7 separate regions of the Homo sapiens genome follow, and all the other regions are linked to region 5. The links are contacts of gene promoters, found by promoter capture Hi-C in blood cells and fetal thymus (Javierre and others, 2016). All regions are on one chromosome and are shown on one strand. The core of a region is centred on a gene start or on the middle of the fragment in contact, and the rest is flanking DNA. Distances in the headings are between cores, read along the strand shown. Region 1 overlaps HPS5 (HPS5 biogenesis of lysosomal organelles complex 2 subunit 2). Region 2 overlaps GTF2H1 (general transcription factor IIH subunit 1). Region 3 overlaps SAA2-SAA4 (SAA2-SAA4 readthrough). Region 4 has its middle 6.8 kb from the start of SAA1. Region 5 holds the start of SPTY2D1 (SPT2 chromatin protein domain containing 1). Region 6 overlaps HPS5 (HPS5 biogenesis of lysosomal organelles complex 2 subunit 2). Region 7 overlaps GTF2H1 (general transcription factor IIH subunit 1).

What was found. The method cuts DNA at HindIII sites, captures the fragments that hold promoters and counts their contacts. A CHiCAGO score of 5 or more calls a contact.
Region 1: a contact is called between a fragment that was not itself captured here and the fragment with the promoter of SPTY2D1 in region 5, in 4 of 17 cell types (total B cells, erythroblasts, naive B cells and 1 more). The highest score is 7.2, in total B cells.
Region 2: a contact is called between a fragment that was not itself captured here and the fragment with the promoter of SPTY2D1 in region 5, in 1 of 17 cell types (neutrophils). The highest score is 5.5, in neutrophils.
Region 3: a fragment that was not itself captured here is called in contact with the fragment with the promoter of SPTY2D1 in region 5 in 5 of 17 cell types (total B cells, endothelial precursors, monocytes and 2 more); the score reaches 7.0 in total B cells.
Region 4: a contact is called between a fragment that was not itself captured here and the fragment with the promoter of SPTY2D1 in region 5, in 1 of 17 cell types (naive B cells). The highest score is 5.1, in naive B cells.
Region 6: a contact is called between a fragment that was not itself captured here and the fragment with the promoter of SPTY2D1 in region 5, in 1 of 17 cell types (neutrophils). The highest score is 7.0, in neutrophils.
Region 7: a contact is called between a fragment that was not itself captured here and the fragment with the promoter of SPTY2D1 in region 5, in 2 of 17 cell types (neutrophils and naive CD8 T cells). The highest score is 8.1, in neutrophils.

Annotation. Positions count from the first base shown.
Region 1 is chr11:18,280,018-18,283,771 of GRCh38, reverse strand. It overlaps HPS5 (HPS5 biogenesis of lysosomal organelles complex 2 subunit 2), which reads left to right. Exons shown (of 23, transcript NM_181507.2): 22 at 1,552-1,822. Among named protein-coding and RNA genes, the nearest start is that of SAA1, 16 kb to the right of the region's middle. RefSeq lists enhancers at 1,020-1,079, 1,120-1,179. The HindIII fragment of the contact is 671 bases long and covers 915-1,585 here.
Region 2 is chr11:18,366,665-18,370,791 of GRCh38, reverse strand. GTF2H1 (general transcription factor IIH subunit 1) reads right to left here. Exons shown (of 15, transcript NM_005316.4): 15 at 3,747-4,127. Among named protein-coding and RNA genes, the nearest start is that of MIR3159, 19 kb to the left of the region's middle. The HindIII fragment of the contact is 9,719 bases long and covers 1-4,127 here.
Region 3 is chr11:18,241,183-18,245,184 of GRCh38, reverse strand. The region is part of intron 3 of SAA2-SAA4 (SAA2-SAA4 readthrough); the gene reads left to right. It also overlaps a transcript of SAA2 not described here. Among named protein-coding and RNA genes, the nearest start is that of SAA2, 5.5 kb to the left of the region's middle. RefSeq lists enhancers at 929-978, 1,109-1,403 and a silencer at 1,089-1,383. The HindIII fragment of the contact is 1,216 bases long and covers 1,891-3,106 here.
Region 4 is chr11:18,257,299-18,261,544 of GRCh38, reverse strand. No RefSeq gene overlaps it. Among named protein-coding and RNA genes, the nearest start is that of SAA1, 6.8 kb to the left of the region's middle. The HindIII fragment of the contact is 2,255 bases long and covers 388-2,642 here.
Region 5 is chr11:18,631,633-18,635,835 of GRCh38, reverse strand. It overlaps SPTY2D1 (SPT2 chromatin protein domain containing 1), which reads left to right and starts at 1,494. Exons shown (of 6, transcript NM_194285.3): 1 at 1,494-1,638. The coding sequence starts at 1,579. It overlaps LOC105376578 (a long non-coding RNA gene), which reads right to left and starts at 1,487. Exons shown (of 2, transcript XR_931097.3): 1 at 875-1,487. RefSeq lists an enhancer at 1,004-1,273 and a silencer at 2,330-2,509. The HindIII fragment of the contact is 3,460 bases long and covers 1-2,798 here.
Region 6 is chr11:18,296,892-18,300,705 of GRCh38, reverse strand. It overlaps HPS5 (HPS5 biogenesis of lysosomal organelles complex 2 subunit 2), which reads left to right. Exons shown (of 23, transcript NM_181507.2): 10 at 1,736-1,914; 11 at 2,989-3,147; 12 at 3,722-3,814. Among named protein-coding and RNA genes, the nearest start is that of HPS5, 23 kb to the left of the region's middle. The HindIII fragment of the contact is 4,308 bases long and covers 1-3,501 here.
Region 7 is chr11:18,338,810-18,342,809 of GRCh38, reverse strand. It overlaps GTF2H1 (general transcription factor IIH subunit 1), which reads right to left. Exons shown (of 15, transcript NM_005316.4): 5 at 3,153-3,246; 6 at 1,400-1,549; 7 at 1,203-1,282. Among named protein-coding and RNA genes, the nearest start is that of GTF2H1, 18 kb to the right of the region's middle. The HindIII fragment of the contact is 2,947 bases long and covers 133-3,079 here.

The DNA of each region.
Region 1 (3,754 bases), core at 1-2,500, 350 kb after region 5:
TCTTGGTTGTCAATTTTTAGAAGTTACTCCAGACCTCTCAACAAAAAAATTTGGTGAACCTTTCAATGATCATATATTTAATATGTGATTCCACTTAGTTGTCACATTTGTGGAGTTTTTGTTTTTGTTTTTGTTTTTTACCTATAGCCCTTGATATGTTATGAAATCACAATTAAGAATAAACTATAGGCAACTTTTCTATTTCATGAGTGCCTACTATGTGTTAGGCACTATACTGTGTGCTTTCCATATGTTGTTTTAAATGAGATAACAAACTCTGGGGATAGTTACTATTATTTCCACTTTCCAGATAACTGAGGTACAGAAGGGACAGTTAATTGGCCCAAAGTCACACAGCTACTAATTGTAAATGCTGGAGCTGGGGTTCAGACCAAGGACTTCCTCCAAAATTTGTGCTTAGGCTCTTTTTTTTTTTTTTTTTTAATTTCCCATTAATTAAAGATGATTCTGGCCAGGCGCGGTGGCTCACGCTTGTAATTCCAGCACTTTCAGAGGCCGAGGTGGGCAGATCACCTGAGGTCGGGAGTTTGAGACCAGCCTGGCCAACATGGTGAAACCCCATCTCTACTAAAAATACAAAAATTAACTGGGCATGGTGGCTTATGCTTGTAATCCCAGCTACTTGAGAGGCTGAGGCAGGAGAATTGCTTGAACCTGGGAGGTGGAGGTTGCAGTGAGCTGAGATCGCACCACTGCACTCCAGCTTGGGCAACAGAGCAAGACTTGGTCTCAAAACAAAAAGGAAAAGAAAAATTCCTTGAATTCGTCAAGTTCTTTCCTGTGTCACATTGTCTTCCATGTTTCCTTTATCAGAAATGCAGGCCCCTTATTTCTGATGGCTCCTACTCCAAGTTTTCACATTATGTGGGCCCCATGCATATGTCCTCTAAGCTTGTCTCATCTTTTAGCTTTCTGCTTCAATGTCACTTCCTCATAGAGCCCTTCTCAGATCTTCCAGGCAGAATCAGCCATTCTCTCTGATGCTTCCTTGTTCTTTTTTTTCATAGTGCTTAGCATACTTTATAAGTATATACTTACGTGTTTAAGTTTTGTCTCCTATACTAGACTGTAGGCTCCACAAGAGTACAGGGATTGTGTCTCTTCTGTTCATCATTACATATCCAGTGCTTAGCATAGGATATGCCCTGGGTAATTACTGAGTGGTTGAAAGAATTCTGAAGCTGCCCAGGTGTGGTAGCTCATGCCTGTAATCCCAGCACTTTGGGAGGCTGCGGTGGGAGGCTTGCTTGAGCTCAGGAGTTTAAGACCAGCCTGGGCAACATGGTAGTGAGACCCTGTCTCTCTTTAAAAAAAAAAAAGAAAAAAATTAAAGTTAATTTTGTGGCTTCTCTTTCTCATGAACAATTTATACAACAAATTTTCAGAAAACAACTTGTGTTAGGGTGATGAGATTGTGTTCTTGAATATTTTTACGTTTTGGCATTAAACATTTTCACAGTTTTGACCATCTCCTGTATCCAGTCAGTGTGCTAAGAGTGGTCAAACTGACACTTCCCTGTGTGTGTTTAGGTTGGATCCCAGAGACCGTGGAGGAATGGAAGCTTCTCCTTCATCTCATACAGAGCAAGAGCACGAGGCCAGCCCCCCAGGAGTCACTAAATGGGAGCCTCAGTGATGGGCCTTCCCCCATCAATGTGGAGAATGTGGCACTTCTGTTAGCTAAGGCCATGGGCCCAGATCGGGCTTGGTCACTGCTACAGGAATGTGGTCTGGCCCTTGAGTTGTCAGAGAAGTTTACCAGAACCTGCGATATCCTGAGGATTGCTGAGAAAAGGCAGAGGTAATATCAGTTTGTCCTACCCTCTGCATAGTGCTTGGAGAAGGTAGAAGGCCACAGACTTTCAGATGTAGATGTGGAGATCATTTAGTCCCGACCCATCACTAACATGAGGAGACTGAGACTGATGTGGTAATTAAGGGAAGAGGCTAAAGTAATATTTCATTCACAGCCATGACCAAGATGCTGTTCAGATTAACCTGAATAATCTGATGTGTCCTTGATTCTTTAAAAATATTACTGGTACCAGGCTGGTCGTGGTGGTTCACGCCTGTAATCCTTGCACTTTGTGAGGCCGAGGTGGGCGGATCATGAGGTCAAGAGATTGAGACCATCCTGGCAACATGGTGAAACCCCATCTCTACTAAAAAAAAAAAGTACAAAAATTAGCTGGGTGTGGTGGCACGTGCCTGTAGTCCCAGCTACTTGGGAGGCTGAGGCAGGAGAATCGCTTGAACTCGGAAGGTGGAGGTTGCAGTGAGCCAAGAACATGACACTGTACTCTAGCCTGGTGACAGAGCGAGACTCCATCTCAAAAACAAAAAAATTACTGGTACCTGGCTGGGTACGGTGGCTTATGCCTGTAATCCCAGTACTTGGGGAGGCTGAGGCAGGTGGATAACCTGAGGTCAGGAGTTCGAGACCAGCCTAACCAATATGGTGAAACCCTGTCTCTACTAAAAAAAAAAAAAAAAAATGCAAAAAAATTAACTGGACATGGTGGCAGACACTTGTAATTCCCAGCTACTCGGGAAGCTGAGGCAGGAGAATCGCTTGAACTCAGCAGGCAGAGATTGCAGTGAGCCAAGATCACGCCATTGCACTCCACCCTGGGCAACAAGAGCAAAACTCTGAAAAAAAAAAAAAAAATTACTGGTACCAGATACCTAATGTCTCAGTAATTTTTTTTTGTGGTATAATACACATAAAATTTATCATCTTAACAATTTAAAAATATTCAGCTCAGTGGTATTAAGTTATTCATATTGTTTTGCATCCAGTCTCTAGAACTTTTTCATTTTGCAAAACTGAAACTCCACACCCATTAAACAGCAACTTACTTCCTCTACCTAGCCCCTGGCAACCACAGTTCTACTTTCTGTTTTTATTAATTTTACTATTCTACATACCTCATCTCAGTGGAATTAATACATTTGTCGTTTTGTGACCAGCCTGTTTTCACTGAGCATAGCATCCTAAAGGTTTATCCATGTTGTAGCATGTGTCAGGATTTCCTTTCTACTTAAGGCTGAATAATATTCCGTTGTATATATATGCCACCTTTTGTTTATCCATTCATCTGTTGACAGACACTTGAATTGCTTCCACTTTCTGGCTATTGTGAATAACGCTGCTATGAATATGAGTATACAAATATGTCTTCCAGACACTGCTTTCAGTTCTTTCGGGTATATACCTGAAAGTGGAATTCTGGAATCATATGGTAATTCTATTTTTAATTTTTTGAGGAACCACCATACTGTTCTGTAGAGACTGCACCATTTTACTTTCCTGCCAGCAGTGCACAAGAGTTCCAATTTCTCCATGTGCTAGCCCCACACTTGTCATTTTCTGTTGTTGTTTTTTGTTAAACAGTAGCTATCCCAGTGGGTGTCAGGTACTATATATCTCATTGTGGTTTTGATTTGCATTTTTCTAATGATTAGAGATGTTGAGCATTTTTTCATATGCTTATTGACCATTTATATAATTGTCTTTGGAGAAATAGCTATTCAAGTCCTTTGCCCATGTTGAATCAGGTTGGGTGTTTTCGTTGTTGTTGCTGTAAGAGTTCTCTGATATTCTGGATATTAACCTCTTATCAGATACATGATTTGCAAATATTTTCTTCCATTCTGTAGGTTGCCTTTTCACTCTGTGCATTGTGTCTTTTAATGCACAGAATCAGTCAACTTTTTGAATCCTCTGAAACTC
Region 2 (4,127 bases), core at 1,004-3,503, 270 kb after region 5:
CAGAGCAAGACTCCACCTCAAAAAAAAAAAAAAAGACAAAAGAAAAAGGAAAAGAATAACCATGTGTCAGAAACAGATACAAATGGGTAGGACCAAAATTTACAAGAATTTGGCAGAAATAGGATCACTAATGGATTCTTCTCTAAGGATATGAGCCCCTTTGTTAAGGATTATCTTTTTATTCATTTATTTAGAGACGGGGTCTTGCTCTGTTGCCCAGGCTGGAGTGCAGTGCCGTGAACACAGCTCATTGCGGCCTGAACCCCCCAGGCTCAAGCTATCTTCCCATCTCAATCTCCTGTCTCCTGAGTGGCTGGGACCACAGGCACATGCCACCATGCCAGGCTAATTTTTTTTTTTTTTTTTTTTTTTTTTGTATAAAGGGGGTTTCACCATGTTGCCCAGCCTGGTTTTGAACTCCTGGGCTCAAGGGATCCATCCACCTTGGCCTCCCAAAGTGCTGGGATCACAGGTGTGAGCCACCATGCCCGGTCATTTTCTAACTTTTAAAAATTAAAAAAAAAAAAATTAAGAGGCAGGGTCTAGCTGTCATCCAGGCTGGAGTGCAGTGGCATGATCATAGCTCACTGCAACCTCAAACTCCTGGGCCCAAGTGATTCTCCTGCCTACCTCCTGACTACAGGTGCATTCCACCATGCCTAACTAAAAGGATTATCTTAAAGGGCATGTTCAGGTGCACAGGTATCTCTTTGTTAGAAAAATCTCAGGTTGCAGGTTAGAAAAGAATTTAAGGGCATAGACAAATGTCCAGAAGAAGATGCACTGACCATCACCTCAGGAAAGACTTGGAAGTAAGGGTACAGAGACACTTTCTATTTTATATACTTCAGCACTATTCAAAACTCAGGGAAAAAAAAACCCCACGAATTATGTTTTCACTATATGTATTGCACACACACACATATATATAGCATGCACACACACACACACACACATATGTAACTCCACCCAGGATGGAAAGAAAGTCAGTAGTGGCCACGAGATGACAAGATTTCCAGTCTCTTCTGTGACTTTAATATACACCCAAACAAGGAGATGGACTACTAACTCAGGCTGGTCACTCCTGAACCAGGTTCCAGGCAATACTCCAGTTCTGGACATTTTAATAGCTGAAAATAACTAAGACTCCCCTGGCCTCAAGAACTGGGAGAACAGCTGAGTCTTGAGGGAGCTAAATTGGGAAAGGGCAGAGGTAATCCTAAGGAATCCCATGCAAGTCTTGACACTGGAGACAGCAAACCTAAGTTTGAAACACACAGCTTTCCATTCCAGACACTGTCAGCTCTAGAAAGATGGTATATGCAACAGGAAATCACTTTCTGGATTAAACTCTTCAGACTCGATGAGTGGGGTTACCTTTCTAGTTACAGATGTTAAAACATTCTTTTGTTTTCCATCCTGAAGTGGATTTTACAAGGTACCTCACCCACTTTGTAGTATGTCTAAAGCAGACTAACACTACTGACTTTTTTTTTGAGATGGAGTTTCGCTCTTGTTGCCCAGGCTGGAGCAGAGTGGCTTGATCTCGGCTCGACACAGCCTCCACTTCCCAGGTTCAAGCGATTCTCCTGCCTCAGCCTCTTGAGTAGTTGGGATTACAGGTGCCTGCCACCACGCCTGACTAATTTTTTGTATTTTTAGTAGAGATGGGGTTTCGCCATGTTGGGTAGGCTGGTCTCGAATTCCTGACCTCAGGTGATCCACCCGCCTCGGCCTCCCAAAGTGCTGGGATTACAGGTGTGAGCCACTGCGCTAGGCCACTACTGACTTTCTTTCCAGAAAAGACTCATTCTCCTAAGGCAGGACATGCTGTTGTTACATTATTACATTTTATAGCCCTCAGGGCCTACTAGGCAGACTAATCCCATGATGCGATTTGCCACAAGTAAAGCACAGAATAGAGTCAGGCAGGAATGACAAAGGAGTCAAAGGAAAAACTAGGCAATGGAAGCCTGGGCTGCGGAATAACAACTTGCAACTTCACAGACATCTCATCCCTTCTCCAGACTAGAGAAGCCTTAGGGTAAATCCTAGCTCTGACACTTACTAGCTGTGTGAATTTGGGTAAATTACTTAACCTCTAAACCATTTCTAATCTGTACAAAATCTTGTAGTATCTACTTGCTTCTTCAGTTGTGGGAAGGGAGATACAGCAGAAAAAGTGTTTGGCACAATGCTGGTTTACAGCAGCCCTCAACCATCAGTGGTGCTATTATTTTCCGCAAGAAGGTGAAGGGCCATAAAAGGCCTATACAGCTGCTGAAGTTCATTGCTAAAGGTATCCAAGGCTCAAATATTTCAAGTGCAAGCTAGACATGAAATTCACAGCTATCTCTGTGAATCACCCTTGATTCCTTCACTCCCTGTGAGTTAGTCACATACACTGTAGAAATGCTGTTACTCAGGCCCTTCCTATTTACCAGGACTTCATTTTAATGTAGACGCTTTCCTGTGTGGTTTGTTCAGAAAGTCTTCTAAATCTGTCCTAATTGCCAAGTTATTTAACCCCTGCCTAACCCCCCACCACCAGAAAACCCCCCCATAAAAGCAACTTGCTTAAAACTTTCTCTCAAGTCTCCCATGCCTAGTAGGTAAGGTCTGAGTATTTTACTTTAGCATACAAGGCCATTCACAACCTGAATTAACATGGTTTTCTGAGCCTTACTTGTCACTTCCAACTCTCCAATCTAACACATCTTTCCTGTTCTTCTAACATATTTCAGTCTTTCAAACCTTCTCATCATCATGCTCTTCCCTCAGTCTAGAAGAGATGACTTTCTTCTCTACCTCACAAAATCCTACTCAACCTTCAAGACTTAGCTAAAACGCTCTTTTAAATGAAGTCTTTCCTTCAGGCTTTATATATATATATATATATATATATATATATTTTTTTTTTTTTTTTTTTTTTTTTTGAGACAGGGCTTTGTCTTACTGTCCAGGCTGTAGTGCAGTGGTGTGATCATAGCTCATTGCAGCCTCAATCTCCTGGGCTCATGCAATCCTCCCGCCTCGGCCTCCAGAGCAGCTGGAACTACAAGCACATACCACCACGCCCAGCTAACTTTTTTTACTTTTAGTAGAGATGAGGTTTTGCTATGTTGCCCAGGCTGGTCTTGAATTCCTGAGCTCAAGTGATCCTCTTGCCTTGGCCTCCCAAAGTGCTGGATTACAGGTATGACTCACCATGCCCAGCTTACAACTTAATTTTCAACACAGCACTCAACAGAACATTCTATTTCTTATGTCTGCCTTGCCCAATAGCCACTTTTTTTTATTTCAATCATTTTTCTATTTGCCCCACTGTAGCAGTAACACATTTGAAAGTACTTTGTGAAAGTGTAAATTTTAAGGGATTATACCAGTACATATACTGATCTGAAAGAGAAATGGGAAGACTGAAGGCAGAAAATGATGTGGCTTCTTTCCCTTTACCAGTTCAAGGTCTTCATAAATTTTTCTTTTTTTTTCTGTAAAAAAAGAGATGGAGTCTCACTATGTTGCTCAGTCTGGACTTTTGAACTTCTGGGCTCAAGTGATCCTCCTACCTCAGCCTCCCAAGTAGCTGGAACTACAGGCATGTGCTACCATGCCTGGCTTAGATTCTGACCTTAGCAGTCATTATATGAAGGATAACCAGTTTGTAACATGGCCTAAAATAAAATGAACAGTTCTCAGGCAGCCCACCCAAGGAAATTCACACATAATGAGAAACCAGAGATGTGTTAGAGTTAAAAGGGTAAGTATAAAAAGTTTTACTTTTTTTGTGTAATTTTTAATACAAGACATCTAAAGTCTTAAACATTAAGTTGATCCCATCAGGAACAAAATATGGCACGAAGTTCAGAAACAAGAACATCTTTTTTTTTTTTTTTTGCACTTAGGCTTTTCAGTCACTATGCAATGATTATCGATTCGCCAAGGACAGTAACAGTCAAATACTAGAGAAAAGGAGATAGGAGAAACATCTTTTATTTCTTCTAAAGAGGTGAAAATAAGATTTTTTTAATATTTCTCACTCATAAGATTTTTAAACTCTTAAAAATGCAATATCTTCTTTTCAAAGCACATGCCATCTTAAAAAAATCTTAGCAATGTACATTTGC
Region 3 (4,002 bases), core at 1,249-3,748, 390 kb after region 5:
GGAAATCAATGCACACCCACATGAAGGGTGAGCCTAGGTAGGCCTATGTGTTTGGATGTGAGGAGACATTCTTAGTAGTCACAGTGCAGACACCTGCATCAACCCTTCCACAAATTAGACCTCCTTTTTTCCAGACCTTTGTGGTTACATTGTTGCTATTTCCAGTCCCTTCCTTGCCCAGGCTTCTCATCTCCTGTGAATTATTTCCTGTTACCTTCTCTGTCCCTCAGTTCTTCATTCCTCAGTGATCTCTGTTTCTGGAGGCAGGGGCTACAGACAATTGAATTGTGAAGTCCTGCCTCAGCGACTGCCACCCGAGTCTTCCTTTCATTTCTCAGCAACACCTACAAATCCAGGCATTAATGAATTTCTACCCACTCCATCTAAAAAATACCTCCAATGCAGTTCTCTTCCACTCTATTTTCATTGCCTTCTTTCAAGTCTAAATATGTAATGCGACTCCTTTTATGAATGTTTTCTGAGTTTCTGGAGCTTAACTAGATCAAAGTTGTGGAAGTGGTGGCAGTGGAGAGAGAGCCAGATAGAGAAGAACTGTTTTATCAGTCAGGGTCCCTTTGGGAGACAGAAACCAGGCAGTAATTTGAAAAGGGAAATTTTAATATAAAGAATTATTAACTGAGAGCAGCATTAACTTCTAAGAGTACAGAATATGAGAAGGTATAAATTTGAGATTGGGCCCCTCACAAGACTGACATTGGATGGCAAATAGTTTACTGGGTCCTTCAAGCCAAAACTGACATATAAGAACTCCATTGAGGTATTAATGAAACTTGGCAGGAAGCTACCCAGGGTGTAACTTAACTCTGGGAATGCAGCTAGGGTTCCTGTGACAAATTTGGGAAACTGCTTGGGGGCAGGAGATAGGTTATCAAAACCCCTGGGAAGCCAGCTGTGGAAGTGGCAGTGCTCTGGAGTGAACTGTATCTTGCCAAAATGTATATGTTGAAACCCCAACTCACAGCATGGCTGTACTATTTTGTTACAGCAGCCCAAGCTGATTAAAATAAGTGGGCTGCTGGTAAACATCATGGACATCCTACTGAGGTGCCACAGAAATTGTCAGGAAACTGTCTTGGCCTTGGGATGCCACTCAGATCTCTGGGGCAAGTGCCACTGGTTGTCCTGTACAGGAGAAGAGTACTGCAGGAGCTGAAAGGAAGCAAAGCACAAAAGAACAGGAAAAGATGTCTTCATCTCCTGCTTGGCCCTCTAGCGCCCTCTATGGGTGAAGATTAACATCATGCCCAACTGGCAAAGGAGAAATGTTCACAGGGTCCAGCTCCAGCATCACAAATAGGACAAAGGGGTGGGTGTGGAGCTGAAAATAAAGAAACTGATAACTGGCATACCCCTTTTCTCTGAAAAAGGATTGAGGAGGACTCCTAAGGTGAGAAGACTAGTTATAAAATTATATTTACAGAGTAAAGACAAATTTATTTGTCAAGGAGGAAGAAAATGTATGGATATAAAGTAGAACTATTTACAACAGAACTTTCTCATACAGTTCTCATCAAAAGACACTAATAGAAGTGTAGGTATAGGAGGTATAGGAGGTTTGAGTCTGAGTCTCAAAGATGTGCCAATGCCAAAACAAGGCAAGGGCAAGATAAATAAGATGGAGAGAGGCGTGGAAGATTGGCTCATGGGAGCAGACTCAATGCACTGTTGAGATTAGTGTTCAGTCTAGTAAAGTCTGAGTTGACCCCAAGTTGTAAAAAAAGACTGTAATGCTATTATTACAATAGCAATTGTAAATGCTTACAATTAGATTTCTGTCACAAGTACTGAAGTTGTAGATTTTGGGGGGCAGGAGGGAGAGAAAGGGAGGATGAGAGAAAGAATGGCTTTCAAAGTCAAATAAAGCAAGCTTTCAAAGTCTAGTCTTTGTAGATATTCAAAACTTTGCAATCAACATATTATTACTAGAAATAATTAACTGAAGCAACATTTGGATACAGAAATTCATTCATCCGTCTGTAAAGGACCAAATCACTCCCCTTCTTGAAATCTATAATTTGAAAAAAAATTTAATTCAATATAGTCCATAGGTTCAGAGGAAGAAAAAGTATAAAAAAAACAAGAAAAAAATTTTTAAATCGAAATTTGTATCCAAGGAAAAAGGTGCTTGGTTTACCCAGGAATTTATAATTTGTAAAGTCACACCTAATACCTATGCTCTGGCACACCCAAATACCTTTTATTAATTACTTGGTTTTCCTCAGTAAGAATTAACATGCTTCTCTCTGTTAGAAAAGTTTGAGAAAGGGAAATTGCATTGCTCTTTGTTATAGTTGTGTTTTGTTTTGTTTCGTTATTTGAGACAGCATCTCCCTCTTTCATCCAGGCTGAAGTGCCATGGCATGATCATGGCTCACTGCAACCTCGACCTCCCGGGGCTCAAGAGATCCTCCCACTTCAGCCTCTTGAATAACTGGGACTGCAGATGTGCGCCATGACACTTGCCTAATTTTTATATTTTTTGTAGAGATGGGGTTTCGCCGTGTCACCCAGGCTGGTCTTGAACTCCTGGGCTCAAGTGATCTGCCTGCCTCAGCCTCCCAAAGTGCTGGGATTACAGGCATGAGTCACTGAGCCCAGCCTACTGTTATATTTATTTTTGTGTCGGTTTGAGGCTGCCCAGATTCACATTGTTTCTGGGGTCGTCTGTGAGGGTGTTTCCAGAGGAGATTAACATTTGAATTGGACTTAATAAAGTAGATTGCTATTCTCAATGCAACTGGGCATCACCCAATCTGTTGAAGGCTTGAATAGAACAAAAATAGAGGAAGGACAGATTTGCCTCCCTTTTCCCCTGCCTCACTGCTTGAGTTGGACATCTCCTCTCATCTTCTCTTGCCCTCAAATTGGATTTACGTGATCAGTTGCTCTGGTTCTCAGGCCTTTGAACTCAGACTGAATTACACTTTCCTGAGTTTCTAGCTTGCAGAGGGCAGATCGTGGGACTTCTCAGCCCCAATTATCTTGTGAGCCAATTCCTTACAATAAATAAATACATACATACATACACAAATAAATTATTTGTCCTGTGTCTCTCAAGAACCCTGACTAATAGGGTATCCAAGCTTTTCAGTCTTATCTCCTATGACTAATTAATGTGCCTCATGCTACATGCAAATTGAGCTGCTTGTTATTTTTAAACATGTCATTGAATTAGGAATTATTTCAAACGTTCAGAAATGTGCTTCCATGTGTTCATTCAGCATTTATTATTGTTATTTAAAATATTCATTCATTTATTTATTTATAGATTTAGGGGGTACAAGTACAGATTTGTTACACTGATAGATTGCATAATGGTGAAATCTGGGTTCTTAGTGTAACCATCACCCAAGTAGAGTTCATTGTACCTGTCAGGTAATTTCTCAATCCTCGGCCCCCTTCTGCCCTCCATCTTTCTGAGTCTCCAGTGTCCATTATTCCACTTTCTATGTCCATGTGTACACATTATTTAGCTCCCATTTATAAGTGCGAAAATGTGATATTTGACTTTCTGGGTTATTTCACTTAAGATAATGGCCTCTAGTTCTATCTATGTTGCAGCAAAAGATACGATTTCATTCTTTTTAATGGCTGAATAGTATTCTATGGTGTATATATGTGTATACAGACATACACACACACCCCTCCAATCATTCGTTGATTAACCTAAGACACTTAGGTTAATCCCATATTTTTGCTACTGTGAATAATAGTGTTGTGATAAATACATGCATTCAGGTATATTTTTTATATAATGATCTATTTTCCTTTGGGTAGTACCCAGTAATGGGACTGCTGGGTCAAATGGTAGCTCTATTTTTAGTTCTCTGGGAAATCTCCATACTGCTTTCCACAGAGGCTGTACTAATTGACATTCCCATGAGCAGTGTATAAGCATTCCCTTTTCTCCACATCCTCACCAACATCTGTTGTTTTTTTGACATTTTAGTAATAGCCATTCTGATTGTGTGAGATGGTATC
Region 4 (4,246 bases), core at 266-2,765, 370 kb after region 5:
CTAACTCCTTCCTCTCGTACCTCATCATCCAATTCTCTCCTCCTGCTCATTTTGCTCTGGCCACACTGGTCTCCAAACCCCCAGGCACATCTTACCCTAGGGGCCTCGGATTAGCTGTTCCTTTCCTCTGGAACATTCTTTTCCCAGATATTTGCATATCAGGGCTTTGAGGGGGCCTTGATCCGGGAATGCAGGATACTGGAAGGTTCAACAATACAGTTATTGTCAATAAGAGTATTGGCAGTGAATGTGTTGGAAAGAGGGCCGTAAATGAACTGTGAAAATTTTCCATGAAGATGGGAGAGGACTGGAGAGTTTTGTCAATGAATACAATAAAGAGGTACTTTGTCTCCAAACATCACTAAGCAGATTGTCTACACAGAAGCTTCTAGTGGGTATTTCTAGGCTGGGCACGGTGGCTCACACCTGTAATCCCAACACTTTTGGGGGCGGAGGCGGAGGATGGGTTAAGGTCAGGAGTTTGAGACCAGCCCGAGCAACATAGTGAGACTCCATTTCTACAAAAAATTAACAATTAGCTGGGCATGGTGGCACACTCCTGTTGTCCTCACTACTTGGGAGGCTGAGGCAGGAAGATCACTTGAGCCCAGGAGTTTGAGGTTACAATGAGCTATGATTCCACCATTGCACTCTAGCCTGGCAACAGAGCGAGACTCTTGTCTCAAAAAAAAAAAAAAAATGCAGATTCCTAAGCCATAATCTTGGAGGTCTTGGTCTCAGTTCAGCGAGTTGGGGGTGATCTTCAGGAATCAGTGTTTGAAAATCTTCCTGTTTGGAAATCACTTGTGCAGATAACATTAGTAAGACTGGAGAGAAGGTGGTAATGAATTTATCAGGGACTTCAAAGAGGACACATCACAGAGGTGAAGAATGGAGAAATGGTCATGGAAAGCAAAGAGGACGAGGACCCCTCTTTCTCATTCTATTGTCTAGGAGGAATTGCAGGAGGCATACCCCATGGGTAAAGATGAGAATAAAGTGAAATCAACATGGGAAAGGCAGGTTTCAAGTTTTTGTAATGGGAAGGAAATAGGCAGAGATAAAGGGGCATCCTCACCGCAGACCCTTCTTTCGAGGAGCTCACTGGAAGGTAGTAGAAGAAGGGTGGGCAGAGTGTTGGGAGAGTTGAGGCTGACTCATAGAGAAATTAGTTGGTGTGACGTGAAAGCAGGGAGATGAGAAGAGTAAAGGGCATGGCAGTTGAGCGTGCTGGTTAGTGACAGCAGATTGGGATTCTTTATTGCTTCCGGGCTCAGTGTGGGGTGCTGTGCTATGGGGGGCTGATACTTATGAGCCAGTGGAACTACTCCCCAAAGGTCAAGTGGACTAAAATAAAAACAGTGAGGATGCCTTTCTGATCTTCTCCCAACCATGCTGAAGTCCTGAAGAGAATGGAAGTTAGCAGAAAGTTCTGGAGAGAATGAAGGGACAAGGGAGGAGGGGAAGGAAACAGTGGCTAGTGAAGGTAGGCAAGGAGTACTCTCAACACATGCTTAATATGAAACATTTATCAGCAAGAAACTAGTTTTTAAAGCTGACACACAGCATTCAAACTTGGAGGCCACAGGCCTCACAGGGCAGGTCTTCTACTTTTTGAGATCTCTAATTACTGGATCCAAACTTTCTCCCTGGGAAAGGGTAATTTGTTTTTGTATGAATTCATCTTTTATAGAGTCACAGCCAGTCCCTTCTTTCTAACATGTACACCACATCTCCTAGGCACGACTGTCTTTTGCTCATTAAGAAAAAACTCTGCCTCCAAACTCCTATCAGATGGAGAAGCTGCAGAGAAGATAAATGGCTTATTCAAGGACCAGAACCCAGGACACTCATGATACCTTGGCCAGTGCTCTTTCTTCTCCACCTCCTTGCCTCCATCCCTTAACAAATGTTCTTTTCTGGGAACTTGGACACCCCTTGAAAAGATGAGGAGTGGTTTATGGTAATTCCAGGTTGGATTATTTGGTTTGGGAGAATGCCATTGGTCACAGCAATCTCAGCTCCTGGCAGCAGAAACCTGAACTTTGTCTCTATTCCATTTTGCCATGGTTATCTCTAACAGAAAGTCCTGTTATGCAACACCAGAATACCTTCCCAGTAGAGGTTGTGACACTGAGTTCCCATTACAGATCCTAAAACCCAGCCACCTAGACTTGGAGGCAGTATGGCTGCAAGTTAAGAGCCAAGCCCTGGTTTCAGACAGACCTGGTATGACCTTGCCTCTGCCATATACTGATATTGTGGAAGAGCACTTAATGACCTGGAGAAGTATCTCTTAAGGGAAAGAGTGCAATAGAATATGATCCCATTTTTGTTCAAAGACATGTTCCCATGGTGAAACACAACCTAGGAAGTTTTACATCTGTGTTTCTAGGTAGTGCCAACAGCTTGTGTTATTCTAGATTTTTAGAATTTTTTACAATGACATGTCCATTTATTTATTGATTCATCATCAGTCATTATCCATTCACGCATCGAGTGCCTTCTATGCAGCAGATACTACAATAGATATTGGGCATACAATGAGGGGAGATGGCGGCTAACCAGGTCTAGGCTGTGCCTCCATGAAAAAGAGACTTATACTTGGGGAAAAATGATTATACATGTGTAGACATAAAGCTTATACTTATAATAAATCAGTAAGATTCCAATAAATAAATGGGAAAAATATGTGTACAAAAAGTATAATGAAAGAAAAGAGAAAGCAAGGGGTATCACTAATCATTCTAAGATTGTTTCTCCTTAAGAACAACAGTCCCCAGGTACTAATATCATTGCTCATTCCTACCATCTCTTATTAAAATAAATAAAATAAGAAATGGCTCAGCTGTCAAAAGGTCTCCTGCCACTTTACAGAAGTAAAGCCAGGCCATGGGCTATGGATTACCAGGAGGGCAGGAGAAAAGATTCCCTCCTGTTTCTTCCACTTAGCAAGTGAATCACCAGGAACACAAAAGGACCAACTATTTAATTCAGGGGCGGACTCTTTTTCTTTTTCTTTTTCTTTTTTTTTTTGAGATGGAGTCTCGCTCTGTCGCCCAGGCTGGAGTGCAGTGGCGCGATCTCGGCTCACTGCAAGCTCCACCTCCCGGGTTCACACCATTCTCCTGCCTCAGCCTCCCGAGTAGCTGGGACCACAGGCGCCCGCCACCACGCCCGGCTAATTTTTTTGTATTTTTAGTAGAGACAGGGTTTCACTGTGTTAGCCAGGATGGTCTTGATCTCCTGACCTCGTGATCCACCCGCCTCGGCCTCCCAAAGTGCTGGGATTACAGGCGTGAGCCCCTGCGCCCCGCTGAGGGGTGGACTCTTAATTGTGTTTGCTGTGTGTCGCTTCTCACAAAGCCCACACTCTCTCATGGAGAGAGAACCCTTTTCTCCTGGCTCAGAGTTTCCAAGTTGCATTCTCTAGGCACCAGAATCCAAACCTGTCTGCATTGAGTTCTGCGTCTCTTCCCCTATAGGTTGTTGGCTGAGGCTCACGCCTCCCTGAAGCCTGCTGGCCTCTAAGTGATGACTGAATCAGGTTATGAAGGACTCGCAGCGGGGGCATGTTGGGATTTGGTCATCAGCCCACTGTCGGCAACAGCAAGAGCCACTCTCAGAGTCTGAAACTGGTATTGCCAAAGGACAACAGAACTCTGCATTCTGTTTAAAAATATTGCACTTTATTCCTTTTCAAACATTTGCAAAAGGGAGTAATAAATTATAGGCGGGTGGATCACCTGAGGTCAGGAGTTCCAGACAAGCCTGGCCAACATGGTGAACCCCATCTCTACTAAAAATACAAAACATTAGCTTGGCGTTGTGGCAGGTCCCTGTAATCCCAGCTACTTGGGAGGCTGAGGCAGGAAAATCGCTTGAACCTGGGAGGTGGAGGTTGTAGTGAGCTGAGGTCACGCCATTGCACTCCAGCCTAGGCAACAACAGTGAAACTCCGTCTGAAAAAAAAAAAAAAAAAAAGACATCTCAAAACCCCAAATCTCTTATGGACTTGTATAGTATTTATGAAACTAAGAACTCATTTGAGAAGGGGAAAATTCCAATAATTCTTCTTAAATTTCGTTTCAATTTCAAGTAATTTATAGGTATGTCTTAGGAATCATCATTAAACCTTCTGTACCAGTTAGGCTATTCAAATATCTACATCTTTAAACACGTATAGCAATTTTGAAAAATAGAGAAGTTTTTCAGTTTAGATGAACAATAAAATATTTTGTCAAAA
Region 5 (4,203 bases), core at 245-2,744:
ATCAGAGGAACAAACGCAGCTGCCTGTTATGTAGCTCAGGTTCCATAATAACATTCTTTTAAGGCGCAAAATAACTTAAAGTTCCAACAGCTTTGATTTTGAATTACGTTCGCAGCATTAAACCATCAAAGAGTAAGAGCCAGCAGCTTTGTCTAGCATGTTTTTTGTTTTTTTTTTTTGAGACGGAGTCTCGCTCTGTCGCCCAGGCTGGAGTGCAGTGGCGGGATCTCGGCTCACTGCAAGCTCCGCCTCCCGGGTTCACGCCATTCTCCTGCCTCAGCCTCCCAAGTAGCTGGGACTACAGGCGCCCGCCACTACGCCCGGCTAATTTTTTGTATTTTTAGTAGAGACGGGGTTTCACCGTTTTAGCCGGGATGGTCTCGATCTCCTGACCTCGTGATCCGCCCGCCTCGGCCTCCCAAAGTGCTGGGATTACAGGCGTGAGCCACCGCGCTCGGCCTGTCTAGCATGTTTTAACAGCTTGACATATTTACATACTGTATCATTCTCACCCGTCTTAAGTGTACGATTTTTAGTACATGTATAGTGCAACCATCCCCACAATCCAGTTTGGAGGCATTTCCATCCCACCGAAAAGATCCCGAGTACCTGTTTGCTATCAATCCCCTGGCGGGTTCCCACTTGCAGACCCAGGTTTGCCTAATTATTTTCAGTGTTTTTGCTAAGTCGAAATGACCTTACAGATCCAAGATAACTCTCCAAAAGAAGTCAGGACTAGGATCCCAATGAATATGAATATGAAGCATATGTTCATCAGTACACCAAAGTTATGTCAAGGCTGGGTCTGTATGTGAAATTCCTTAATCCATTGCCTGAGCAAAAACACAGGTTGGCTGCTCCACATAAAACTTACTTTCTAAACGGGGCAAAAGAAGTAAGCGCGTGCCCCCATCCCCGGCACGCGTGCATCTGAGTAGGAGGTAAGCGCACGGCATGTGGCCGAATTTGATGAGTAATGGGCATCCAAGACAGGACCACGGCGCTGCTGTGTGCGCCTGCGCAGCTTCGCGAGCGCCTAGACACAAGTAGCCCAAACCCCGGCTCGAGATCCGTCTGTTCAGCTGTTGTGGCGCCGCCGTTTTGGATCTAAGCGCCTACCCGTGACACCCAGAGAACCCAGGCCTGGCAAGTAAACCCTCTACCCCCTCACTTTCTCTACCCAGCGCTCACAAGGAGCAACAAGATGACAAGACCGCGCGCCCGGGCCACCAGGGAAGCCGCTCTCTCGCTTAGCCACACCCCCTTGGTTGCTAAAATGCCTAGTCCCTGCCCCTCGGGTCGACGCCAGCAGCCACGTATCACGTTTGTACGTGTCTCGGCCTAAAAGCGGAAGTTACGCAGGGACTCGCGAGCGCTGTGGCGGCCCTGAAAGGATATAGGCCGTGGAGGGAAGGGGGCGGGCAGACGGCATAGGAAGGCGCCGGAAGTGGTCCCGCAGAGGCGGGGTGGGAGTGGGGCTCCCGAGGCAGTGCAGTTGGCTGTAGCTGGGCGCCTCGGTTAGGTGCGCTGTCAGTCCTTTCCGAGTGCCTGGCCCAGTCTCTCCCGCCTCGGCCCAACATGGACTTCAGAGAAATTCTCATGATAGCTTCCAAGGGACAAGGTGTCAACAATGTGCCGGTAAGTAGCAGCTGGGGCATCAATGTAGGGGACCCTAGTCTTCCAAGTTCGGAATGTGTGTGGCCCATGGAACTTCTGGGCAGCCGCCTATCGGCTCCGGGAGAGGAAAGACCCGGACGCCTTATTTCCTTTTCTTGGGTTTATACTCTTGGGAACTCGGGAGAAAAGAGCTTGGGACGAGACGCGGGAGCCTTCCTGTGAATGGGTTTCGCCGGCTTATTTACCCCTGCAACAGGGACTTTGCGGTTTGGGTGTTGTAGCTAGAATTGCGTGAAAGCCGTGAGTGAGCTGTGCCTGGCACGCTGTGGATTCTAGCGCTGGTAGTTTTTGGCTTCCACATAAACTTCAGCCTAGAGATTGGGAAGGAAATATGTATGTAAGGGAGTTAGGGGGTTTGGGGTCCTTGGCTTGATAGCTTTTTGGCTGGCTTCTCATCGATCTTCAAGTCAAACGTTTAGCGATTTCTTGAAAGAATTCTCTGACTCGGCCCCACCCACTCAGCCACCGAGGTGATTAAATTATCACCTCCCAGGGGATAGGTATCATCTTTTGGGAAGAGAAGTTTAGCAGATTCCACGAAATCCTTGGCCAACAGAATAGGTGAGCTAGTTTCAGCTTCTGTTTACTTGTAGCCTTCCAGATTTCAGTCTTTGTTTAAAATCTAGGTCCCATTTGGTCAGTAGATGTTTGTCAGTTCGCTTACAGTCGCAAGAGCGGTGTAAGACTTAAATGGTAAAGTGGTGGAGAGCGCCTGGTTTCTGGGGGTTATGGCTGTTTTGCATAAGCTAATCATTTCCAGATTTTCAGATGGTACCCACAGCACAGCTGTAAACCGATAAGTTGCATGGTGATGCCTGCGGTTTGAGCAGTGAGGTATAGAACTAAAACGGCTCTCAAAGTCAATTCAGCTAGAATTTATTGAGCTCCGACGAAGTGCTCTGCATTTCCTAGATATTCGTATATTGCAATATTCGTTTTTTTCTCTTCTGCAGCTTTTTTTTGTCTTCTGAGGCTAGTTCATTCTTTTATCCCTTTGAAAATATTGATCTGAAAAAGGTCTATATTTATGTTTATAAATATATGTATATATACACACACACAGCCATCCCTTATCCCAAGAACTCTGAATAACCATTCCTCTAAGCCGTGAGTCATAAGCTTTGCATGTTGAAGGTATAGACTCAAACCTTTGAAACCCAGATCAACAGATTTACTTTCTAGAAGCATCTGTAAATTTTCCAGATGAATCAATATTGGGTCTAGTAACCATTCATCTTTGCATAATTTGGTCTGTATTTCATTCTAGATCTTATTGAATTTCAGTAAAGGTCAAAGATAGTACTAGCTTTGATGCCCAGTACTGTTCTGTGGAAGAATCAGAACTAAGTCATTTCTTATTCTGAAAGCCAGTAGCTGCTGGGAGAAAAGCAGACAGATAATCCTAAAGCAGAAAATTTCAAAATATGTGTATATGTCATAATATATGCATTATCTATGATTGGAATAACAGAAGAATCAAAAAGGGGAAAAAAGTAATTTAAAATTTAATAGATGGGCGCAATGGCTCAGGCCTGTAATCCCAGCACTTTGGGAGGCCTAGGCGGGAGAATCACCTGAAGTCAGGAGTTTGAGACCAGCCTGACAAATATGATGAAACCCCATCTCTACTAAAAATACAAAAATTAGCCGGGCATGGTGGTGTGCGCCTGTAATCCCAGCTACTTGGGAGGCTGAGACAGAATTGCTTGAACCCAGGAGGCGGAGATTGCAGTGAGCTGAGATCGTGCGATTGCACTCCAGCCTGGGCAACAAGAGAAAAACTTCATTTCAAAAAAAAAAAAATCAATAGATAATATAGCCATATATTTTATGAATCATGCATTCTCTGACCTCTCCCCGCCAAAGCTAGTAAGCCTAGAAGTTTGATTTAGTTACCAGCATTATAATTCTTATCTTTTTATGTGGAATTAAAGTCACAAAAGAAACTATTGAGGAATAGGATAAGACTGTAGTTAAATTTCTTCTTCTTCTTTTTTTTTTTTTTTAAGATAGAGTCTCACTCTGTCGTCCGGGCTGGAGGCTGGAGTGCAGTGGCATGGTCTCGGCTCACTGCAGCCTCCACCTGCTGAGTTCAAGCAATTCTCCTGTCTCAGCCTCTTGAGTAACTGGGACTACAGGCACCTGTCACCACATCAAGCTAACTTTTGTATTTTTGGTAGAGACAGGGTTTCACCATGTTGGCCAGGCTGGTCTTGAACTCCTTCCTCAAGTCATTCGCCCACCTCGGCTTCCCAAAGTGCTGAAATTACAGGTGTGAGCCACCACACCCGGCCAAATTTCATGCTTTACTTGATTTGCTTTAACTTGATTCATCTAACTGTTCTATTTACTTTTTCCTTATCAGCTTAAAGTAATTTGGACACTTTCAAACATAAGGAATGTTAACACATTTCTAATATACCCAAACCCCGTATTTAGCATATTAACATTTCCCCATATTTATTCCATCTATTTTAAAAGAAATAAAGCTTTTTTTCTTTTTTTGCCATCTATTTTAAAAGAAAT
Region 6 (3,814 bases), core at 98-2,597, 330 kb after region 5:
TTTTTTTTTGAGACTAAGTCTTGCTCTGTCACCCAGGCTGGAGTGCACTGGTGCGATCTTGGCTCACGGAAACCTCCACCTCCTGGGTTCAAGTGATTCTCCTGCCTCAGCCTCCTGAGTAGCTGGGATTACAGGCACGCACCACCACACCTGGCTAATTTTTGTATTTTTAGTAGAGATGGAGTTTCGCCATGTTGGCCAGGCTGGTCTCGAATTCCTGACCTCAGGTGATCTGCCGGCCTCAGCCTCCCAAAGTTCTGGGATTACAAACATGTATGATTACAGGTGTGAGCCACCGTGCCCAGTTACGTTTCTTTTAAAGATTGACCATAGATATTTCCCATTGTAAGTTACTTCCCAAACATGCATTAGTGAATTTGCATTCAGCTATTTATTTTTTCATGAGTCATTTTATTTATTTTTTAATTGACACATAATAATTGTACATATTTATGGGGTACATAAATATGTACCCCATAATATGTTTCGATACATGCAGTGTATAGTGTACCCTGATCAGATCAGGGTGGTTAGCATATCTACCATGTTAAACATTTATTAGCTCTTCATGTTGGGAACATTCATTGTCCTTCTAGCTCTTTGAAAACAGACATTATTATTAACTATAGTCATCCTACAATGCTATGGAACAGTAGAATTTATTCCTCCTATCTAGCTATAATTTTGTATCCTTTAACAAGTCTTTTCCCTGTCTTCTCCTTCCTCTTACCCTTCCCAGAATCTAGTCACCTCTGTTCTGCTTTTTTACTTCTGTGAGATCACATTTTTCTAGCTTCTGCATATAAATGAGAACATGTGGTCTTTAACTTTCTGTTCCTAGCTTATTTCACTTAACATAGTGTCTTCCAGTTTTCATGAGTAATTTTAAGTGCAGTTTTCATTAGTAACTGCTGAAAAGGAACAAACAGGTTATTTTTCCCTCTATTGCCCTGAGTCTTTATCCCTGCCAGAAGTCTTACTTTGACTCCCATTTTGTATCTTTATAGTTTGGGGTTCAAATTGTTCTTGTGGGAGCAACAGCCATCATATGTGACTGAGACAGAAAATCAATCTCTATATTCTTTGGGTTAAAACCAGAAGTGGGGGAAATCTAGCTTTTTTACCATTGCTGCTCAGTAGAGAGTGTTATGTTGACTTTTTGGTTCTTTTTCTATGTTTGTAAAAACCAAAAAAGGAGAGAGAGAAAGAAATCATTACTTACTGGTCTCATCAACAGTGACTTTCTTGTGGCTTAAATTTCTTAAGTATGTCCCTTGAAAAGTAGTCTTTTAAGTCCTTTCAGGATACTCTGCCAAGACAGATATTTTCTTGAAGGCAGATATTTTCTCATGAACTGTATATTGATTTACATACTATGTTAAAATCCATTCATTGAGGACCAGGTTGTAACACTCGAACCTTATAGTCTGGCCTCTAATGTAGATTATCCTCTTTTAATGTCCCAATTCCTTTTCACAGAAAACAGCATTTTTAAACATAAGACTTTAGGTCAGAGAGATATAGTTCTTTCTTCACATCTTTTATTCTTGATCTTTTTAGAATAGTTTCTAAAATATGATTTCTTCATTGAACTGCAAGTAGAAAAATAGAGATGAAATTCAGTCAAGCCAAACCCTACGTAAGAAATGAATTTATTAGAATAATTGCATCCCTTTTAAAATTGTAAGGGGTATTTGGTTAACATTTTGTATGTTCACACCTGTGGTTTTCGTAGATATTCAGGATGTGGCTGTCTGTAGGAATGAATTGTTCTGTTTGCACCTAAATGGGAAAGTCTCACATCTCTCCCTGATATCTGTGGAGCGCTGTGTGGAACGCCTGCTAAGAAGAGGCCTATGGAACTTGGCTGCTCGTACATGCTGTCTTTTCCAAAATTCTGTCATTGCCAGCAGAGTGAGTCAGAGCTTACCTAGACATCTTTACCATGGATTGGTGAAACTCTCCTACCTTGCAAGATTGTGTTACAAAGTTGCTTGATTTTATTAACCCTGTCTGTGTGACCTACAGATACAGCAATACATGCCCAGAGAAAGCATGATAGATATATCTAGGGGTGGATAGAGGGTAAGAAAGAGGGTACAATTTTCATTTAAAACATCAAATTTACATACAAATTTGTTTCAGAACTTGTTTTTAAGGGGGATAATTGCGTATATGGTAAATTTTAATTAAATTATTATTATTATTATTTTGAGACAGTCTCGCTCTGTCACCCAGGCTGGAGTGCAGTGGCGCAATCTCGGCCCACTGCAACCTCTGCCTCCTGGGTTCAAGCAATTCGCGTGTCTCAGCCTCCTGAGTAGCTGCGACTACAGGCGCTCGCCACCACACCTAGCTGATTTTTTTTGTATTTTTAGTAGAGACGGGGTTTCACCGTGTTGGCCAGGCTGATCTCGAACTCCTGACCTCAAGTGATCCGCCCACTTTGGCCTCCCAAAGTGTGGGATTACAGGTATCAGCCACCACACATGGCCTTAAATTCTTAATTCCTAAGAAAATTCTCATTAAATCTTTCTCCAGCTTGCTAAGCCTTTTTAAAGCACCATTGAAGTTTTATGTTCTATATTAGACTTATTTCTTTTTTCTTTTTTTTTTTTTTGAGATGAAGTCTCACTCTTGTCCCCCAGGCTGGAGTGGAGTGCAATGGCGTGATCTCAGCTCACTGCAACCTCTGCCTCCCAGGTTCAAATGATTCTCCTGCCTCAGCCTCCCGAGTAGCTGGGATTACAGATGCCTGCCCCCATGCCCAGCTAATTTTTGTATTTTTAGTAGAGACGGGGTTTCACCATGTTGGCCAGGCTTGTCTTGAACTCCTGACCTCGGGGGATCTGCCCGCCTCGGCCTCCCAGAGTGCTGGGATTACAGGCGTGAGCCACCGTGCCCGGCCTAGACCTCTTTCAATATATTGGCCATTTGAATATAGATTTACCTACAAATAGCTATTCCATTGCGCTGTTGTTTTATTAGGCAAGAAAAACTTTGACTGCAGATAAATTGGAGCATTTGAAATCTCAGCTGGACCATGGCACCTACAATGATCTAATTTCTCAACTGGAAGAATTGATCTTAAAATTTGAACCTTTGGATTCAGCTTGTAGCAGTAGAAGAAGCTCCATTTCATCACATGTAAGTATTCTCACCTTTAAAGGATTTTGTAGGGTAAGATTTTTCCATCTTCGGTTGTTCTTATTTACCTCTAGGATCCCCAAATTTGTTGTCCTTTCCATTTATGTTTTTTGGTGGGAAGGGGTGAACTTTTGTTCAGCTAGTGGCTCAGCTCTGTGAAGCCTCCATTTAGGTGTGTCTTGGAGCCACATTTTGTTTTGTCATTGTTTATTATTTTTTGTTCCCTGATATACTCATATAGCTCCCAGCATAAGTTACGTTGCTCTAATATGTGATTTTAGGTGCTTCATGCTAATTTGAGCCTGAATGCAGGTCTGGATTATCTCATTTAATCCCCATTCTCACTACCAAGCTTTATGAAGACAAGCTAGAGAAATATGGCAGCTGATGCCACTAGCACACGGAGTGACCCAGCTGCCAGGCACCTAAGCCTTGCTCATCAGTTTGTTCTAATAAGCCATAATGGTTGTTATTAACTTTCTATTTGAGTGTTGGTATTTCTCTGCAGAAGTTATATTAACGTTATAAAGGAAATTTTTACCTTTTTTTTTTTTTGAATTCTTTTAATTTTTAGGAAAGTTTCAGCATCTTGGACTCTGGTATTTATCGTATCATTAGTAGTAGAAGAGGCAGTCAGTCAGATGAAGACTCTTGCTCCCTTCACAGC
Region 7 (4,000 bases), core at 357-2,856, 290 kb after region 5:
ATTGATACTAAACAGAAGATAAAGTTACAAATGTACATGTACAATATGCCATCATGTTTATTTTAAAGAAAAAAAAAGCACTAAAAAAGTCTTCCTTTCATACTAAGTTGTAAGTCTAAGCGCCACTAAGCTTTATTTTCTCAGGATAATTAAAGAGGGCCATGTTTGTATAGATTCTTCTTCACTTCTGAAAGGGTGATGTCCTGAAAAACTCACTGTATGATCAAAGTATAAATTGAAAATACACTGGCTGGGCGTGGTGGCTCATGACTGTAATCCCAGCACTTTGGGAGGCCAAGGTGGGCAGATCACCTGAGGTAAGGAGTTTGAGACCAGCCTGGCCAACGTGGCAAAACCCTGTCTCTACTAAAAATACAAAAATTAACTGGGTGTGGTGGCACGTGCCTGTAATTCCAGCTACTTGGGAGGCTGAGGCAGGAGAATGGCTTTAACTTGGGAGGCAGAGGTTGCAGTGAGCCAAGATTGCGCCACTGCACTCCAGCCTGGGCAACAGAGTGAAACTCTTTCTCAAAAAAAAAAAAAAAAAAAAAAAAAAAGAGACAGAAAAAGAAGAAAAATAAGAGCAAGAAAATGAAAACTCAGAGTAAAGGGAATAACTGAGGAAGACAAGTTCTGGCCTAGAAGACAGAGGCAGTGATAAAATTATCCTTGATCACAACAGGAACCATCTCTTTCTCTGCAAGTAGATAAATCTGTAGGTCTGGGGTCATGATGCTGAGGTAGGTAGGTCATACATGATGGCCTACTTGCTGAAACATTGGGGTTGGCATGGTATAAGGGTCATGAGAGTGCTTAAGGTTTGGCAGATAGTAAGCAATCAACAAATGTTTGTTATCTTCCTTATTTATTAATTTATCCATATTTCTTTAGATTAAATGTTAGCTAGAGCATAAAGCTGAACTCATCACATTAAGCCTTTATTATTACTAGAGAACTGCGGATGAGGGAGCTAGAAATTTATTTTTAAAAGGTTTTAGCAACTCACACAGGAATTTCATTTCTTCTAGGCAATTTTAATGGCAAACAACGCTATTTCAAAGCACTTCCGATAAATCACTTCAAGTAACAGTATTTTGCTTATTTGACATTCTCACAAGTGGAATAGGTCTACTACGCTTAAGACAATGTTGAAGACTAGGAAAAGACTCTTTTCTCTCAAAACTTCTTTTATTGCTTCTTACCTCATCTAATGGTTTATCTTCCAAAGCTGTTAAATCTAGTAGTGGGTTTTTCACTCCTAATGAAACCATTGTTTTTAGGCCTAGAAAATCAACAAAATAAAAAGTTCAGCATGTCTTATCTGTCTCAGAAATTAACACTTATAATGTCTAGAGGGTGGCAAGTTAAATACCAGTGTCTATCAGAGATAAACAGTTACCTTTTTCATCTATTTTGGCACATTCTGCAAAGAGATCCTTTGACCCTGTATTCAGCCGATCCCTGTGAAAATAATGGGACTGGAAAAAACGTGTCCAGAATTCCTTCTCTGTCATGTTGTGGGGAACATTTTCTGCATATTTCATTTTTACTGTGGAAAAAAACCCACAAATATTATATACTGAATTTCCATTTTTAAAACCTCTCAAATTAGGTAACTGAAATACAAATAGCAAAATCTAGACCATAAAGCTCTCAACTCTACATACTATAAGTTATAATCTAATTATAAATATGAAGGGTAACTTGAGAGATTAGGTGAGGTATGACCTCTATAAATCTTACAAATTACAAACAAAACCTTATTTGCACCAAAAGAATAAGGTTTTGAAGTTTTAGTAGAAATACCAAGAATCTCAGGAGTCAGAGCTGAGTCTGCTTGTTTGCTCATTTATATATGTGCACTCTCAATCCAAGGCACTGTGTTAGCTTGTGGGGTAATAATGATCTCAATATCCACTGGACTGTCAGCTCAGCACTCCAGCGGCTTACACACTAGCAAGCATAGAGTTCAACAGCATTGTTTGCTGAGCTCTGAGTTTAAAATTCCAGGTCTGCCACTTTCTATCTGTGTGACCCTGAGCAAATTACTTAATCTTTCTGCACCCTGGTTTCCTCATCTGTAAAATGAGGGTCATAACAGTACCTCTACTTCATAGGTTTACGTGATGATTAAATCAGTTACTATAGAAAAAGAACTTAGAAAAGCGTCTGGCACATAATAAACACTACACAATTATGTTACCATCAGAAAGATACAAAAGAGCCAGATGCTGTGGCTCAAGCCTGTAATCTCAGCACTTTGGGAGGCTGAGGCGGGCAGATCACTTGAGGTCAGGAATTCAAGACCAGCCTGGCCAACAGGGTGAAACCCCATCTCTACAAAAAATACAAAAAGTAGCTTGGCGTGGTGGCACGTGCCTGTAGTCCCAGCTACTTGGGAGGCGGAGGCAGTAGAATCACTTGAGCCTGGGAGGCGGAGGTTGCAGTGAGCCAAGATCGCGCCACTGCACTCCAGCCTGGTTGACAGAGCAAGACTCTGTCTCAATTAAAAAAAAAAAAAGAGATAGGGTCTTGTTTTGTTGCCCAGGCTAGTCTTGAACCCCTTGCTTCAAGGGATCCTCTTGCCTCAGCCTCCTGAAGTGTTGGGATTACAGGCGTGAGCCACTGGGACTGGCCAGGATTTCATAGAGGTGGCAAGGAGGTGATGCTTGAGCTGAGTCCTGAGAGAGAGATTCCTAAGGGACTAAAGGGGTAAGAGTGGGGAAGAGGGAAGCGAGAACAGAATACAGCTTAAGAGAGTACTGCTTAGTCAGAAGAATGACTGACACACTGGCTCTCATCCTTGTCTACACATAATAAATCACTGAGGCTGGGGTCAAGGAATCTATACTTTTAGGATGGCATCTGCACGGGAAGTAATTTGTGGGTTAGGAAGGTCACTCTGGATGCAGAATGAAGAATGATCTGAGTTAGTAGTACAGACAGACTCGAATGGCAGTCATATTAGTGAACTGATGACAACACATTATTTACTGAGCCCCTAGTATCTACCATATGTCAGGCACTGGGTAAAAAGTACTTTACATAATTTATTGCACTTGATCAGGAATCTGAAGCTTTTTGTTTTTCACTGATATACTATAGAATATATCCATATATTTTAACCATCTGAAAGAACTGATTCTTCTTACCTGCTGGATAGGTCCTAAATATGGACTCAATGATATCAGAAGTTAAATTATATCTTAGACCGTTACAGCCATCAGTTTGGGGCCGGACATCAGCCTAAAACAAAGCCCATACACACATACACGTTAGAGCATCAGGGAAAGATGGCTCAGGTCCCAGTGGACACTGGACAAAGGTGGAAAAAAAAATTTCTGAACTAACTGCATAGACAGAGAAAGTCCCTCACCTTCACTTTTTGCACAGAGGCAGGACTCAAAAAAGCCTGACTGGTTTCTCACGGTCTTAAGTGACCTATAAAATCTGCTCCTTTGGAAGTCTAATATGGTCAAATAGGCATGTTTAAGTATGAAGGCAGAGAGGCAGTGGAGCTTTAAGATAAAACTTGTATAGTCATAAAAATCACTACAAACCTTGGTTAGTAAATAATTAAATTAACATTAACTGACTGACTTCTTTGGGAAAGGCCTTATTAATTCACTTCACTAATAAACATCCAAAAAAGATACCAAACATACAAATAGTATTCAAAATTTTGTTGAATGTGTTAATACTATTCTGGTTCCACTAGAATACCAACTGACTGAATTCCATTCCATAATTCCACAGATAAGGTATTCCCAATTGTTCTAATATAGTTTACAAATCTTACATTTTCTATAATATGGTCATGATACATTTAACCTTGTATTGTAAGTAAAATATGGCAAAGGTTTAAAAAGGCAGCAGAAAGCCCTACATTTGAAAATATTTGAAAAAGTAAGTATTAGTCCAAACTCTGAAAGAGTCATTTTCAAATTCCATTTGACTACCAGCATGCTAGGGTCAAGTCCAAAGGCCAAGAAAACATAAC